2 separate regions of the Homo sapiens genome follow, and region 2 is linked to region 1. The links are contacts of gene promoters, found by promoter capture Hi-C in human tissues and cell types (Jung and others, 2019). All regions are on one chromosome and are shown on one strand. Each heading gives the region's core, a stretch centred on a gene start or on the middle of the fragment in contact. The rest is flanking DNA. Distances are from core to core; before and after follow the strand shown. Region 1 holds the start of CMTM8 (CKLF like MARVEL transmembrane domain containing 8). Region 2 overlaps CMTM8 (CKLF like MARVEL transmembrane domain containing 8).

The links. The method cuts DNA at HindIII sites, captures the fragments that hold promoters and counts their contacts. A contact is called where the count stands out against the background at its distance.
Region 2: a fragment that was not itself captured here is called in contact with the fragment with the promoter of CMTM8 in region 1 in 4 of the 25 tissues and cell types used here (H1 embryonic stem cells, adrenal gland, bladder and 1 more).

The regions. Positions count from the first base shown.
Region 1 is chr3:32,236,288-32,241,333 of GRCh38, forward strand. It overlaps CMTM8 (CKLF like MARVEL transmembrane domain containing 8), which reads left to right and starts at 2,393. Exons shown (of 4, transcript NM_178868.5): 1 at 2,393-2,832. The coding sequence starts at 2,686. RefSeq lists a silencer at 2,197-2,406. The HindIII fragment of the contact is 9,285 bases long and covers 1-5,046 here.
Region 2 is chr3:32,355,170-32,359,956 of GRCh38, forward strand. CMTM8 (CKLF like MARVEL transmembrane domain containing 8) reads left to right here. Exons shown (of 4, transcript NM_178868.5): 2 at 2,204-2,377. Among named protein-coding and RNA genes, the nearest start is that of CMTM7, 34 kb to the right of the region's middle. RefSeq lists an enhancer at 3,728-4,407. The HindIII fragment of the contact is 9,259 bases long and covers 1-4,787 here.

The sequences.
Region 1 (5,046 bases), core at 1,143-3,642:
CTCTGCGTGACTCTGGCTGGCCTTGTCATTCATTGGCTTAGACCAATAGAATGTGGTGGAAATGAGTCCGTGTAACCTTCAGGGCTGGGCCTTAAGAGATCTGCTTCTGCATTTGCCCCTCTTAGAAAGTCTCTTCCAGTAGCCAGCTGCCAGGTAGAAGTCCAACCACCATGAGCTTATCATACTGTTAGAAAGCCCAAGTTGAAAGGGCACTGAAATGCTCAAATGGGAATGAAGACTTTTTGGACTTTCTGGCCCTGCCAAGTCACCAACTGAAAGCAGCTGAGTAAATGACTCCAATCACACCATGCAAAGCAGAAGAACCTGCCAGCCAAGCCCTTCCCAAATTCCTGACACAACAGATTTCTGAGCAAATAAAATGGTGATTTTAAGCCACTAATATTTTGTGAACATTTATTACATTGCAGTAGATAATCCAAGCATACACTTATGTCATTCATGATTTCCCTTGCAGAAAATTAGTATATTAGAGTGTCACCCCAGACCTTACCAAAGGTATTATGTAATATATGGTACATGCACATTTTACCTTTCTAAATTGAAAAACAAAATCTGAATTTAGAAATTCATCTGACCCCAGGAATTTTAAGAGAGGATTGTCCTTTGTTAATATTATGGAAATAAAGTTGTCTAGACTCCGTCTTTTACGTTCACTAAATGTCATGCATAATGCTTGAGTCTCCTCCAGCCATTTCATGTATGTATCTCTTATTTCCCCAAACTCATTAACAGTTTCTCTAAAGCAGCAGCTAACTTCAGCATGCATCAGTGTCTTTTGGAGGGCTTGTTCAAACACAGCTTCCTGGCTCCACCCTCAGAGTTTCTGATTCAGAGGGTCTGGGGGTGGGGCTTGAGACCTTGCATTTTTGATAAGTTCCCAGGGAACTTACCTGCTGTTGGTCCAAGGACCACTTTGAGAACTACTGCTCCAGGGAGAAGTGCTATATTTTAAATTTTAAGAATTTACCCACCAGCCCAAGGTGCTTACCAAATGCACATGGATGGAATCTCTCCAAATCTACATCTTTGCCATGCTTTTGAAGCCTTAACTTTTACTCCTGGAGGTCTTCCTGGCTAGGCCCTAGACTTAAAAGACACTAATTCCTTGTTTTATTTTATTAGATTGTCGTTTTTGCTTTCTTCTCAGCACACTTGATAAGACACTGTGAAGAAAATGTCCCTTCTGATCTCGTTTTTAACCTGTCTTGGAACAGATCAGCAGAAATGCCTTCACTGTGAATCAAAGATACCCTCGATTTATAGCCAAAGATTATTTCCTTTTCTTTTGGTGGCTTCCAGATAAAATGTTTCTTGCTACCCTTTCACAAAATAGAAGGAGGGACCAAGCGGAAGATAATCTTTTTGTTCAGAGGTCCATCTGTCAAAGCCTGCATTTTAGAGATGGCATTACTGAGGTCCAAAAACTAGAGCCACTCGCTCTGGGTCATACAGCCGATAAACGCACGCAGCCGAGCTCAGTTCTTCCCTGACCCTGTTACAAACTGCCTCACTAAATGAGGACCCCCATCCCCTTCCCATGCCAGGAAAGCACAGCTCATTTGTCCTAAAGTTAACATTACACAAATCACACCCTTCAAGCCTTCTTGAAACATTTTTTTTCCCCGAGGGTGACGGGACGGTTACGCTGATTCATCCTGGCCAGGGACCCCAAACATCTCCCCTCCTCCGGCCCAGGCGCCGTCACCCAGGCTCCACCGGTCCGCGGGACAGAGCCGCGGAGAGCGCCTGGAAGCGTCGCGCCCTCAAAGCCAAGCGATTAAGTTGGTTCCTCAAATTGTTCCCGACAGGAGGGGCAGGAAATAACACCGGGCTCTGGCGGCGGCCGCAGCAGGAGGGGGAGAAGAGCGGGCCGTCTCCCGGGCAGTGCTGGCGGCCTCTCATCGATCTCGGGTCTAAGGTCCGGCCGGGTCATCATTCCTGCCATTTCCACAGCATTCGAGGTACCACATCACCCCCTGCCTCGGTCGTCGCTCAGTCATTCCCTCCGCGCCGAGTCCTGGAGCGGCGGAGTCCCTGGAGGCCTGGGTTTCCTTAAGGGGCCCCAATGCCCGCAGCCCCCGACCCGCCCAGGTGGAAGGAAACAGGCTGCGGGCCTGGGCCAGGCGGGGCCTGACAGAAGTAAAGGCCGGGAGGGGGAGCGGAAGACGGCCAGAAGGACCCCTGCGCCCTCTCCTCCGCGCCGCCCGCCAGGCTGCCAACCCAGCCACCCTGGGTGCGACGCGGCGCCTTCTCCGCCGCTGGGAGTCGGGCAACAGGTGAAGAGGGCGGGCGTCCGCGGCGCCTCCGCGGGGCGGTCCCTCTCCTGCCCGCCTCCCGCCCGCCCCTCTCCCCGCCCCCTCCCCTCCTCCGGGCCTCCACCGCCTTCCCCGGCTGCCCGGCAGCCTCCCCTCGCTCGCTCTCCTCTTCCTCTAGGGCCCCAGCGCAGCTCGGGAGCCCGCGCACCGAGGCGCTAGGGGCACCGCGCACTAGAGGGACACCCGCCGCGCCTGGACAGCCCCCGGCGGGCGCCCCCCTCGCACCTCCTGCCCCGCGCGGGCCGCGCTCCCCTCCCCCGCGCCTGTGTCCCCAGGGCGCAGGGCCGCGCGTCCAGCCCCAGACCCGCCGGGGTCCCTGGGGACGCGCCAGCCCGGCAGTGGCTCGACGATGGAGGAGCCGCAGCGCGCCCGCTCGCACACAGTCACCACCACCGCCAGCTCCTTCGCAGAGAACTTCTCCACCAGCAGCAGCAGCTTCGCCTACGACCGGGAGTTCCTCCGCACCCTGCCCGGCTTCCTCATCGTGGCCGAGATCGTGAGTGCCGACGGGCCGGGGGTGGCGGGGGGCTCAGCTGGACCCCGGCGCGTGCTTCCGCCGTGCTTCTCGGGATGGAGCCTGCTCAGATCTTCCCGCGGGCTTTAGGGAACCGTTTTTGCTCAGCCTCGCCTTCTTCCCAAAGTGAAAGACTCTAAACAAGGTCCAGGAAACTCGGGCTGTCCTGGGAAGAAAGGGTTGTGATCCTCAGGATGTCTTGCTGTGGGAGAAATTCAGCTTGTTGGGTCCTCTCGGTGGCGGCGGCAGATCCTGGGAGCAGGAAGCTTGGCTTAGTGGCTATTGAGTTTGTGTTGAGTGTCAGAGACACCTGGTGCCTTTCTCACCTGATCTCCACGTGGATGGCCTCCTCCCTGAAAATAAAGCTTCCTAAGATCAGGGGAAGAGGAAAGGGCTTCTTTCTTTTCCTAATTATCTCCCTGGTAGTAACATTGAGGTGAGTCAGGAAAATTTTACTGAATAAAATCTGAGTGCCATAACCTATTTTAGGACCAAAGAGGTCTTTTGCATGGTGCTGTGCACATCCTGGTTTAGGCTCAGAACATTCCTGGGAAGGAGGCAGGGCATGGGCGTTCTTCTCTTCATTGGAGGGCATAGAGGCTGAAAACTCACGTGATCTTCCCAGAAGTCCCAGCCAGTCCTTCATAGCTGAGAAAGGACTGGAGTCCTGTCAGCAGTTAGAGGTGGTCACTGTTTGAGTCTTCTTCGTGTACCAGGATCTTGTCAAGCCCTTTAGATGTCCTCATACCCTCGTGTAATCCAACGACCACCCTCCCCTGTGAAGGCCTAGAGAGGGGACGTAAATCACACCGGTGGATGGTGAAGCATGGATTCAAACCCAGGCCTGCCTTTCTGCAGGGCCGTGCTCATAACTGCAAGCAGTTGAGACAGCTTCCAGCTGCCCCAGCAGTGCCCCTCTGTCATCTCTCACAGACTTTTGTTAAATATTTGGGAATTGAAAATGAGCCTATGTGGGAGTTAGAGAATGGGCACACCATCATGGTGCAGAAGTGACTGAAGACCTGGGCGGTTCCTTTGAGAAACCTGAAGTAAATCTTGTGTACCTCAAGTAGCTTGCTTGCTCCCCCAGTCTCAGATACCACCCGGACCTGCTCTATGAAGCCCCTGGTGGTCATAATGCACATAAGGTATGAGAAGTGTTGGCTTAGCTCCTCTCCCAGCTGGTTCCCTCAGCGAGTATTGAGGACTTCAGGAGACTCAAAAGCTGAAGGTATTGGAATCGCCTTGCAGGGCCTAGCTTTTAGGAGTTCAACAAATATTTGCTGTGCAAATGAAGGAGTTGGCAGGCTCCTCTGCTTCAGCAGCGCAAACAAAAGCTAAAATGACAGAGATGGGCCTTCTACCTTGGGGTGGATTTGGGCCAGGCATGAAGTATAACGCCTTTGGGTTTTTTTCTGATTTATTATCGATATGCTCTGTGTACTGCGCTTTTTCAGGAAATACAAAAGTGAAAGAAATGTAAGTGGCCCACAATCCCATTACTAGAAATAATCACTGTTGACATGTTAGCATGTATCCTTTTAGATTTCATTAAGCGTTTTGAAAAAGATGGGAAAACATGTAAGCAAAATCACCCTTATTACTACTATAGTTTTTATTTTTGACAGAGCTAATTATGCACCTTTTTTGTTTGTTTTGTTTTGTTTTGAGACAGGGTTTTGCTCTGTCTCCCAGGCTGAGGTGCGGTGGCACCATCATGGTTCACTGCCGCCTTGACCTCTTGGGCTCAAGCGATCTTCCCATCTCAGCCTCCCAAGTAGCTGAGACCACAGGCATGCACCAACACACTTGGATAATTTTTAATTTTTTTCTAGGGACGGGGTCTCTCTGTGTTGCCCAGGCTGCTCTGAAACTCCTAGGCTCAAGCAATCCTCCTGCCTTGGCCTCCTAAGGTGCTGGGATTGTAGGCATGAACCACTGTGCCCCACCTTATGCACATATTTTAAAGATTCGGTCCTACAGGCAGAAATATAAGTTTCTCCCAGTGTCTTCATCTCTTTGAGCTCTAAACAACGTGTTTATAATGCTGTTTATTGGTGTTCCCTCACCCACCCAGTCATAGACATTATCCATTGCCTTTCTACTCTGAAAGATGAGGCTTTAGCTGGGATGCCCTCTTCCCTGCCTCCAATTATACATACCCTCTTCCTGTCTCCCAATATAGGTCCAAACACT
Region 2 (4,787 bases), core at 349-2,848, 120 kb after region 1:
TCAAGATCTTCACAGGAAGTCTTCTTAAAGAAGGGCCTGAAGTCTCTCTTCAACATCTACTTCTTCTAATCCCTATTTGAAGGTCCCCAACTACCTCAGACTGAGTAGGTTGAAAATTCAACTCATGAACAACACTCCTTTAGCCTGTTCCTCTTCCATTGTTCCAACAGAACAAGTCCAACCCTGATCTACTCCAGAAATCTTTCTAGATACCTGGAGATCATTCCATTGTATCCGCTCCCTTCTCCTCCCCCAACCCCATGTCTAATCCATTAAAGTACCATCTGCTGAAATTTGTCTTGAATTTACTCACTTCTCGATATTCACTGCCACCATATTGGTCTTGAAGACTTCATATTCTTCCACTTGGATTATTGCACGCTCTCTAAATTTGTCTCCACACCACTGCTCCCCCTTTCCCCTCCACATGTCCATTCTCTACCTGCAGCCAGAGTGGCTTTATAAAAAAATCTAGCCTAATCTTAACATTCTCTTGCTTAAAACTCTCCCACTGCCCTTCGGATAAAGCACAAAATCCCTAGGCCTCCTGGGCTCATATCATCTGACCTTCCCCAGCTCTCTAACACTTTGCACCAATATCCTAACTTACTACACATTCTTACAGGTTCTAGAAGGTAGCAGAGCCCTTCCCACCTTCAGACCTTTGCCCACGCTGTGTCCTCTGCCTATAATGTTGCCTTCCTGCTTCTGTCTCGCTAGTGCTTTCAGCCTTCTGGTTATTCTTCAGCCTGGACTTCTCCGATGCTTCCTGTGCCTGCCAGCAAGGTCATTTCCCCCATCATAGACCCTTATCATACCGTTTACCTTCTTCATAACATTTGCCACAGTTGTAATCGGTCAGGTATTTCCCTCCACTAGACTTTAGTGCTCTACAAGCAGGATATGTACAATTTGTATACCACTGTCCTTGGGGCCTGATAGCAGGAAGCCCAGATATTGTAGGTGCTCCCGTGTTAAACAAATAAAGGAAATCTGTCTTCCGAGCCTCTTGATTAGAGTTACTTTAGTATTTTGATTCATATACCACAAAGAAAGCTAAACCAGAAATGAAATTCTTTGTCCTGAGTCACACAGCGAGCCAGGACTTGCAGGGCTAGAGCCCACCCTGGACTCCTGTTGCTGTGTCCTGGGCATGTGGTTCACATCTCAACTTTTTTGTGACTTAGGAATAAAGTCCACCTGGAAGGTGCTAGAATGTGAGTGCATACCTTGCTCTAGCCTTCCTTTGTCCAGGACTCAAGACACCTACAGTTTAGGTCAGTTTCCTTTTGCTTGATGAAGTCTTCCTTTAGTCAATGAGTAGTGTTACTTTGGCTTTGGGTATGGTCTTACTTGTCAGCAGTTGGATGACTATTGCTAGGGTAAATGCACAACGTGTGGTAAAATACTGAGTGTCCACATCTGGACTGGGCCGCTGTTCATTCTCTCTTCTGAAAGCTGTCTCAGACCACATGTTACTGGCCATCTGTGAGAAGAGCAGGGAATGCCCAGAGGTTCGTCCCTTGAAAGCAGATCAGCTCCAGGGACCACCTCCAAGTACACCTGCAGTCTCATTTCCTTGACAAATACCAGCCTGGGAGCAAATTCCAGCCATGGATGTTGTTTCTCACCAAGTGGTGTTTTAAAACCCCTGATTAGTACTAATATTTAAAATCAAGATTATTATGTACAAGCTTGAGTTTCTGTGTTCTCCTGGGATGGAGAAGACCTGGCAAAACCAGCCCACAACTATCAGCTAGAGCTGAATTTTAAGAGAACCCCCTAAAACAAGATATTGTTGGTCCCTGCCTGGACTGCCATGGTTACCTTCCTGGCATTTGTAGGCACATGAGTTTGCAAACCCTGTAATATTTTTAAGTCATGGCAGGGGAAGGTGGGGTATATGCATGAAAGTTGTAATTGACTTAGCCAGGCATGGTGCTGCACGCCTGTAATCCTAGCTACTTGGGAGGCTAAGGAAGGAGAATCCCTTGAACCCGGGAGGTGGAGGTTGCAGTGAGCCAAGATTGCTCCATGGCACTCTAGCCTGGGCGACGGGAGCGAGACTCCATCTCAAATAAATAAATAAATAAGTTGTAATTGACATTCTGTATAATTATTTTTTTTTCTTTGTCCCTCCTTCCTTCTTTTTCTTTATCTTCTACTGTCCCCTCCTCTCTCCACTGCTTCTACCACTTTACAGGTTCTGGGGCTGCTGGTATGGACGCTTATTGCTGGAACTGAGTACTTCCGGGTCCCCGCATTTGGCTGGGTCATGTTTGTAGCTGTATTTTACTGGGTCCTCACCGTCTTCTTCCTCATTATCTACATAACAATGACCTACACCAGGATTCCCCAGGTGCCCTGGACAACAGTGGTAAGGAAGCTGTGGGTGGTGGTCTTGTCCAGTGCCCACTCGGTAGATGGCATTAGTCCTCTACTAGTCAATCCAAGACTGTCTCTCTGCCCAGAAAAGGTGGGGCCATACCATGGAGAACTCAACACAGCAGATAATCTCAGCATCATCTAATTGCCTTTCAAGTGGCTTACACCTGGGTGTGAAACTGGGCACATTAGAAGGTCCAGAAATTCCTTTCAGGCAGAATTGCAAACCAATTCTCAGAAGACTGAATCAAGAAAAGCCAGGTTCTCTCCATTAGATTCTCATTTTATTATTTCCCTGTGAACAATGTCAACTGGAAATAAATATGCCAGGGCGCCAACCTCTGCAGATCGTGCTTCCTATAAACCTCTCCTGGGGCTGTGGCCTTAACCCTTTGTACATCACAGCTCTTATGATGTTGGAGCACATTGTGTATGGAGTTAGAATGCAAATGAAAATTGCTATTAGAAAACATAGGTGTTCTTATATATTTGAAAAGGAGAATTGTCAGGAATGACTGGATTCTCATCCTGGCTCTGGCACCATGCTGGATGCAGGATGGTGAACATGTGGTCCAGGGTAAATAGATAAGAAAATGAGTAGATACGAGACCCTGTGGCATACACTGCAGTGAAGCTGTGTAGAAAGTGTGATGGAGGCTGCCACCTCAGCTTAGGATGGCTGGGAACTCTTCAGAGAGGAAGTGACATTTAGCTTCATCCTGGAGATCGAACACACACATCCTAAGTGGATTCACAGAGATGGAAAGTGGGTTCCCCTTGCCTTAAGAGCATTGACAATCTGGTTGGCAAATTCAAAGTAGCTAAATGATTTACAAAAAAAATCCCAGTGGTACCACATGTGTTTATGTATAAAACAGAGCTCTCCAGTGATACTATTTTTTTGTCTGTTTTCAACCAATATGTGAGAAAAAATATTTAGTTCCAAATAACTGACTTATGAACCAAATTTGAAATATAGTCTATTTGTGGTTATAGACTAAGTTAAGTTGGCACACTTTCAGACAACACTATCATTGTTCAAAACGCACCTGGCTTTGTTCTTTCTGTGTTGCTAAGCTAAGTCCCCCAGGAAAACAAGTCTTACTTTATTTCACAAGGCAGATTGACTGACTCTTGACCATTTCCCCAAATCCAAAAGTAAGGACTCTTTATTAAGATTTTCAAGAAAGCGTTGCAAGTTTGAAAAGTAATTCCAAATAAGGTGCTTAATCACTGTCTAGGGTGGTGGAAACAGCCTTGTTAGAATTGGTGTTTTGCTGCCTCAGATGGGCATCAGGAGGGAAAGACTCGCTTAGATGCTAGATTCAAAAAAAGTTAGCACCTTGAAGTAATAGTAACTATAGGAACACAGGATGAGGGAATAATCAAAGTAGGTTGGAATTTAAGGAATGCCATTTTGGACAAAGTTGTGTCCTAGGGTGGGTCTTGAAGAAAGTGACTGTGAACTTGGAAGAAGAGGAACTTGGACAGTGTAGTAGGGGAGCAAATTGTTGGGATGGAGGAATGGACAGTACCCTTATTTCCCCTTTTGCATGAGTCTCAATTTCTAGTTATGTTATCTAGATCAGCAATTGGCATGCTGTCTCTGTAAAGGACCAGATAGTAAGTACTGTAGTCGTCTTGGGCCACACGCCTACGGCCCAGCCACTCAACTCTGCCTGCAGCATTGAGAGAAGCCATAGGCAATTTGTAAATGAATGAGCATGGCTGTGTTCCAGTAAAACTTTATTTACAAAAACTGGTGGTGGCCGGGCATGGTGGCTCACACCTGTAATCTTAGCATTTTGGGTAGACACCAGAGGTCAGGGGTTTGAGACCAGCCTGGCCAACATGGCGAAATCCCGTCTCTACTATAAATACAAAAATTAGCCTGGCGTAGTGGCACATGCCTGTAATCCCAGCTACTCGGGAGGCTGAGGCAGGAGAATCGCTCGAACCCAGGAGACGGAGGTTGTAATAAGCTGAGATCACGCCACTGCACTCCAGCTTGGGCGACAGAGTGAGACTCTGTCTCAAAACAAAACAAAACAAAACTAGTGATGGGCCAGATTTGACCCACAGGCCATAGTTTACAGACCTCTTGTGTTGATCATATGTAGTCTTTCTCTTCTCCAAGCCTAAAACTCCTTCACTGATTTATTACATTAAAAATTTTAAAATATTGCCTTTAATTGGACTTTTAAAAAGAATATTAACAATGCCTTCTTCCGGCACCCCTGGTTTTAAAATGCTTTGATTTGCATTATCAGAATTTATTATCGTAAGGTGTGTCCCCATTTTATAGATAAGGAAACTGAGGTTTGGAGTCTTGTGACTTTGCACAGATTTACACACAGCAGGGGTCCACATCTCTCGAATTCCATCAGCATTTGTTTTCTGAT